Regions from separate parts of the Homo sapiens genome. Here region 2 is linked to region 1. The links are contacts of gene promoters, found by promoter capture Hi-C in blood cells and fetal thymus (Javierre and others, 2016). All regions are on one chromosome and are shown on one strand. Each heading gives the region's core, a stretch centred on a gene start or on the middle of the fragment in contact. The rest is flanking DNA. Distances are from core to core; before and after follow the strand shown. Region 1 holds the start of IFNL2 (interferon lambda 2). Region 2 holds the start of CLC (Charcot-Leyden crystal galectin).

Region 1 (3,136 bases), core at 389-2,888:
TCTGCGTTGCTGAATGCACCCCTCCTTGCCAAGGTCACACGGCTAGTGAGGGTCAGAACCAGGTTTGAACCCCAGACCCTTCATCTCCAAGACCCATGCTCTTCACCACTGCCTGAACTTCCCTAAGAAAGACGGCACCCACGTGGTGTCCTTCAAGTCCTTCGTCACACCTCAGTTCTTGAGCAGAGCCTCATATTCCTGAGTCCTTCCTTGCCTGGGCAATTAAGAAATATTGGCCTTGGCTGGGCTCAGAGGCTCATGCCTGTAATCCCAGCACTTTGGGAGGACGAGGAAGGTGGATCATGAGGTCAGGAGTTCAAGACTAGCCTGGCCAGCATGGTGAAACCCTGTCTCTACTAAAAATACAGAAATTAGCTGGGCATGGTGGCACATGCCTGTAATCCAAGCTACTCAAGAGGCTGAGGCAGGAGAATCACTTGAACCCAGGAGGCAGAGGTTGCAGTGAGCTGAGATGGTGCCTCTGCACTCCAGCCTGGGCAACAGAGCGAGACTCCATCTCTCTTGCTCACTCACTCTCTCTCATGCTCTCTCTCTCTCTCTCTCTCTCTCTCTCTCTCTATATATATATATATATATATATATACACACACATATATGCCTCTGGCCGGGCGCGGTGGCTCACGCCTATAATCCCAGAACTTTGGGAGGCCGAAGAAGGCAGATCACGAGGTCAGGAGTTCAAGACCAACCTGGCCAATATGGCAAAACCCCGTCTCTACTAAAAATACAAAAATTAGTTGGGCGTGGTGGTGCATGCCTATAGTCCTTTCTACTCGGGAGGCTGAAGCAGAAGAATCCCTTGAACCAAGGAGGTGGAGGTTGCAGTGAGTCGAGATCACGCTGCTGCACTCCAGCCTGGGCTACAGAGCAAGACTCCATCTCAAAAAAAAAAGAAAAAAGAAAGAAAGAAAGAAATCATGGCCTCTGGGCACAGTGGCTCATGCCTGCAACCCCAGCAATTTGGGAGGCCAAGACAGACAGATCACTTGACGTCAAGAGTTCGAGACCAGCCTGGCCAATTGGTGAACTGTCATCTCTACTAAAACCATAAAAATTAGCTGGGAATGGTGGCACAAATCTGTAATCTCAGCTACTTGGGAGGCTAAGGCAAGAGAATCGCTTGAACCCAGGAGGTGGAGGTTGCAGTTAGTCAAGATTTTGCACTGCACTCCAGCCTGGGTGACCGAACAAGACCCTGTCTCAAAATATATATATATATATATGCCAGGAGGGGTGGCTCAGGCCTGTAATCTCAGCACTTTAATAGGCTGGGTGAGGAGGATGGCTTGAGCCCAGGAGTTTGAGGCTGCAGTGAGCTGTGATCATGCCATTGCACTCCAGTGACAGAGTGAGACCCTGTCTTAAACAACAACAAAACCAGAGCAGGTGGAATCCTCCTGGGAACATACCTTCCTGTAGGTTACCCCTGAGTCTCCATCAGTTTCTCTTTCCCTCCAGCTGCTCATCTGGCTCACTAGCCCTGCCCTGCTCTGGGCTTTCCCAGCCTGGGGCTCCCCTGGTGGCCGGTGTCTTACCTGAGGCTGTGTTTTCACTTTTCCTACATCAGCTGGGACTGCCCTTCTGTCAGGGATAAAAGCTGCCCCATGGAGCTCAGGCAGGAATTACATCCCAGACAGAGCTCAAAACTGACAGAAAGAGTCAAAGCCAGGACACAGTCTGAGATCCAGAAGAGGGGACTGAAAAGAACAGAGACTCCAGACAAGACCCAAACAGACCCTGGGTGACAGCCTCAGAGTGTTTCTTCTGCTGACAAAGACCAGAGATCAGGAATGAAACTAGGTGAGTCCCACATCTCTGTCCGTGCTCAGCTCCTGCAGCCCCTGCCCTCAGTGGGCAGCCTCTCCATCCCCTCAGCTCCCTTTCTCTCTGTGACACAGACATGACTGGGGACTGCACGCCAGTGCTGGTGCTGATGGCCGCAGTGCTGACCGTGACTGGAGCAGTTCCTGTCGCCAGGCTCCACGGGGCTCTCCCGGATGCAAGGGGCTGCCACATAGCCCAGTTCAAGTCCCTGTCTCCACAGGAGCTGCAGGCCTTTAAGAGGGCCAAAGATGCCTTAGTGAGTCTCCCCCTGCCCTCCTGCCATGGACTAGCCTCCACCCCCACTCCAAGCGTCACCATGCTTTCCCACTCCCAGCTTCCTTCACTGGGCTAGCCTCCACCCTCCCTGCAGTGGGCTATCTCATGCTCCTACTGTAGGGACTGACTCATGTTTTCCTGTAGAAGAGGGTCCTCTACCATCCTCCCAGCAGTTAACCTCCCCTATCCTGTTGTCAGCCATCCTCCAATCCCACCAGGATGGTCTAACCTCCACCCCTCCTGCTGGGGCTAACCTGTGCCTTTGCTGTCTAGGAAGAGTCGCTTCTGCTGAAGGACTGCAGGTGCCACTCCCGCCTCTTCCCCAGGACCTGGGACCTGAGGCAGCTGCAGGTGAGAGGGGGAGTCAGGCCCACCCCTGCTCTCCCAGCCCCACTCACCTGGCTCTGTAGTGGCCCCTTCACCGTCTCTTTCTCCCTTGTCTCTCTCTCTTCTCCTCACACCTGCTCTCCCTTCCCTCCGCTCCCACCTGACCACACTGGCTGTGCCCTCTCCCCTGTGCCTGTCACCTTCACTTGTTCCTCTCTATCCTGCTCCCCAACCTGTTCCCCTCACCTCCCCCCTCACCTGCTCTTTCTCACCTCTCCTCAGGTGAGGGAGCGCCCCATGGCTTTGGAGGCTGAGCTGGCCCTGACGCTGAAGGTTCTGGAGGCCACCGCTGACACTGACCCAGCCCTGGTGGACGTCTTGGACCAGCCCCTTCACACCCTGCACCATATCCTCTCCCAGTTCCGGGCCTGTGTGAGTCGTTGGGGCCTGGGCACCCAGGTCTGTGAGCTCTGAGCAGCGTCCTTCCCCTTGCCAAGGCCCCGGCTCACACACCGCCCTCCTCTGCCCACAGATCCAGCCTCAGCCCACGGCAGGGCCCAGGACCCGGGGCCGCCTCCACCATTGGCTGTACCGGCTCCAGGAGGCCCCAAAAAAGGTGAGTGACCCGGGAAGAGAGGGACTGAGGTCTGGGGAGCCACTGGGAGCCCAGAACCCAGACAGCCCCTGA
Region 2 (3,136 bases), core at 228-2,727, 470 kb after region 1:
ATCACTTGAGGTCAGGAGTTCGAGACCAGCCTGGCCAACATGGAGAAACCCCATCTCTACTGAAAATACAAAAATTAGCCAGGAGTGGTGGCACAAGCCTGTAATCCCAGCTACTCGGGAAGCTGAGGTATGAGAATCGCTTGAACCCGGGAGGTGGAGGTTGCAGTGAGCCGAGATTGCACCACTGCACTCCAGCCTGGGAAACAGAGCGAGACTCTGTCTCAAAAAAAAAAAAAAAAAATTACTGCAGGTTTGAAGGCCTGGGCTTCAGTGAACCTCTTGCATATGCCCCCCAGCAGCTGGAACTACGGTATGCAACACCACATTCAATAAATTTTTAAATTTTTGGAAAGATGAAATCTTGCTATGTCTCCCAGGCTGGTCTACCAGTCCTGGCCTGACATGGGCCTTTCAATTCGGCCACCCAAAGTGCTGAGACTACAGGCCTCAGCAAACATCTTGATGAATATCCACTGTAAGCTCTGCCTTGTACCTTCCTGGTTTTGGGTGATTCAGTCTCTTAAATCAAGTCCCTCAATGTCCTTCTCTAGCATCCTGGCACTCAATGGGAAGGCCAGGCTAGGGTAGGAGACAGGGAGAGACCTGAGGCTGGAGGCAGGAGCCAGTGGTCACTGTGTGCAGATTCCACCTAAGGAACCATCAGCCCCATCGTCTGTTTCTCACCCCCATTCTGCTTGGGAAAAGGCACCTGAGAATTCATGCATTCTGCTCTCATAAATGCTCAGAGATAAGTCCTCGGTAACTCAAGGGCCCCAAGATCCCACAAGTTCTGTCACCGGGGATCCACAGTGATGCACAAGGGAAGTTAGACAGAGTACTGCTATGTGGGGAGGAACCTTCACATGCACAGAAGGCCACATGCATGTTCCCAGTTCAACACCCAGTCACATTCCAGCACACACACTCACAGTCACACAGAGCCGTGCCACTCACTGAGTCACACACACCTGCTCACTGTGCATATAAAGATGCTCATGCACTGGTCCGGCTGTGCTCACACACACACTCACATCACAGTCATGAAGACAAAACACAGTCACCTGATTACAATCACTTACACACCCACCCATATCCTGGAGGGCCATACACATCCCGTCTAAAGTCACATCATTTTTAGCAGAGTTTACTCTCATCAGATACCATCACATGCTCACAGAGGGTCACAATGTTCCAGCATCCACACCCCCTACCCCCCTACCCCAGGAGCATCTCAGATACCATAGCCCTAGGGTCTCTCTTCCACACACCCACAACTCTCAGTAAAGCATTCACAGTAGAAATTTTCATATTTTCATCCCATAAAATCTCCCTCTTCCCTTTTCTGTGTGACCTGAGATTATTGAAGGCTGTGCCTTTTTAACTCACGGGTAGCAGGGACATTGTTGTCTCCTTCTGGGTGGCTCTTCTGAATTGTGTCCAGACTTCTGTGTGAATCTCTGAGCTGCAGAATTTAAATGGCCCCTATCAGCCCTGCCTCTGGCTTTATTCCTGATTCCAAGCCCCTCCCAGGAAGGTTTCCTCACACAGTGAGAAGGGGTGGGGTGTCAGAAACAGACTCAGTCACAACCACACCTGTTTGGAGGCCTGTGCCTGTGATGCAGCAGAAACGACAGTGAGGGAGGTACTGGAGGAGGAAGGGGTCACCAGGGAAATGCACAGATAAAGACGATGGAGTGAGGATGAGTGGTGTGAGTTCCAGCCTCCATGCTTCTCATGAAGCCTTTTCTCCACTGTGCAGAATCTACCAGGAAGGTGTGCGTTCTCCTAACCTGTGCAATGGTAAAAAGCTGGAGATCCTGGGGGCAAGGCACTTGGCTTTGAAAGAAAATCCTCCTCCTCCTTCTCCAGTGGTTCTGGGAGAGCATAGATCTTGATCATTCGCAGGACCTGGGGACAGAAGTAGAGAAAACACTTGTGTCTTCTTTACCCACCCTCAGATCCCTTGGCTCTGCCAGGTGAGAGCCACTCCCACTCTGTCTCTCAGACACCTGGGCTTTAGGTACGCCCTCTTATTTCCCTATTTCTTTTCATGTGAATCAAAATCTGAGGCTGTCGTTCTCCTGCAGATTCTTGGAGAAAGGTGAGATTTCTCACTCATAAGTGGGAGCTAAGCGATGAGGATGCATTAGCATTAATATTAGTTGTGCTTGACCCGACAATAAATTCCACTTTCCCTGATCTAAAACCTTGACAATTCATTTCCAAGCATGCACTCCAAGATTCTGCTCATATAAATCAGCACAATCACACAGTTCTTTTGGTATATAACGTATTTCCTTAAGATTAATTTGTAATGTCATCCCACTGCATTCCTTGGGTTTTGACTCTGGGTATGGACATGGAAGCAATGAAAAGGGTCAGAGGCCACAATTAAGGAGCTTTGGAAACCCCGTTCTAGGCAACCACCCTCACACCCTGCCCAGAACTGTAGCTTGTAAGAAATTACCACAGAAGGGAAAGAGGAACTGCTTTTCCTTGCAACAGATATGCAATAGAATTTTGAGTAATATCCCAGCTATTCATCTGAACTGGGGAAGAAATATCAGTTCAGGGCGTCTGGCCACCTAGTAAGCTGTGGATAAAGATGTTGATGTTATTTACTTCTCAGGCATTCCAGCAATCCTTTCAGTGATGCAGAGAGATTGATCTTCTTTAACTTCCATATCCTCTGCACAATAGCCCATACTTCTGCTGGTTGCAACTATTTCTTCAGAAATCCATTATGCCCTACGACTTGCTTTCAGTCTTTCTTTTCAACTACATCTTTCCAAGCACACACTGTTCCCCCGAAAAACTTTAGGTTTTGTGTATGAAATTATATAATATCTGGGATTTGCTCTAAAATAATCTGGGGATGACAGTTCTCTCCTTTTGCAAACATTTGAAATTTTTTACAGTACAGTTTTTAATTAAGTAGCCAGTACATAGACTATATATAAAAGAAAAACAAAATTATCAGTACTGGCATGGCTATATCTTCAAGAAATGCTGTAGTATGAAAAGGCATGAAGAAAACATGCATAATACGAGACCAATTATTTTAACGACAAAAAAATAAAATTGATCTCATAAGTACACACAAACATTCATAAATGCACTAGAAAATGTCAAAAGA

Evidence for each region. The method cuts DNA at HindIII sites, captures the fragments that hold promoters and counts their contacts. A CHiCAGO score of 5 or more calls a contact.
Region 2: a contact is called between the fragment with the promoter of CLC here and the fragment with the promoter of IFNL2 in region 1, in 6 of 17 cell types (total B cells, M0 macrophages, naive CD8 T cells and 3 more). The highest score is 15.7, in total B cells.

What each region holds. Positions count from the first base shown.
Region 1 is chr19:39,266,758-39,269,893 of GRCh38, forward strand. IFNL2 (interferon lambda 2) reads left to right here and starts at 1,639. Exons shown (of 6, transcript NM_172138.2): 1 at 1,639-1,821; 2 at 1,920-2,101; 3 at 2,395-2,472; 4 at 2,731-2,880; 5 at 2,981-3,064. The coding sequence starts at 1,812. The HindIII fragment of the contact is 23,103 bases long and covers 1-3,136 here.
Region 2 is chr19:39,736,552-39,739,687 of GRCh38, forward strand. It overlaps CLC (Charcot-Leyden crystal galectin), which reads right to left and starts at 1,478. Exons shown (of 4, transcript NM_001828.6): 1 at 1,387-1,478. The coding sequence starts at 1,401. The HindIII fragment of the contact is 8,050 bases long and covers 1-3,136 here.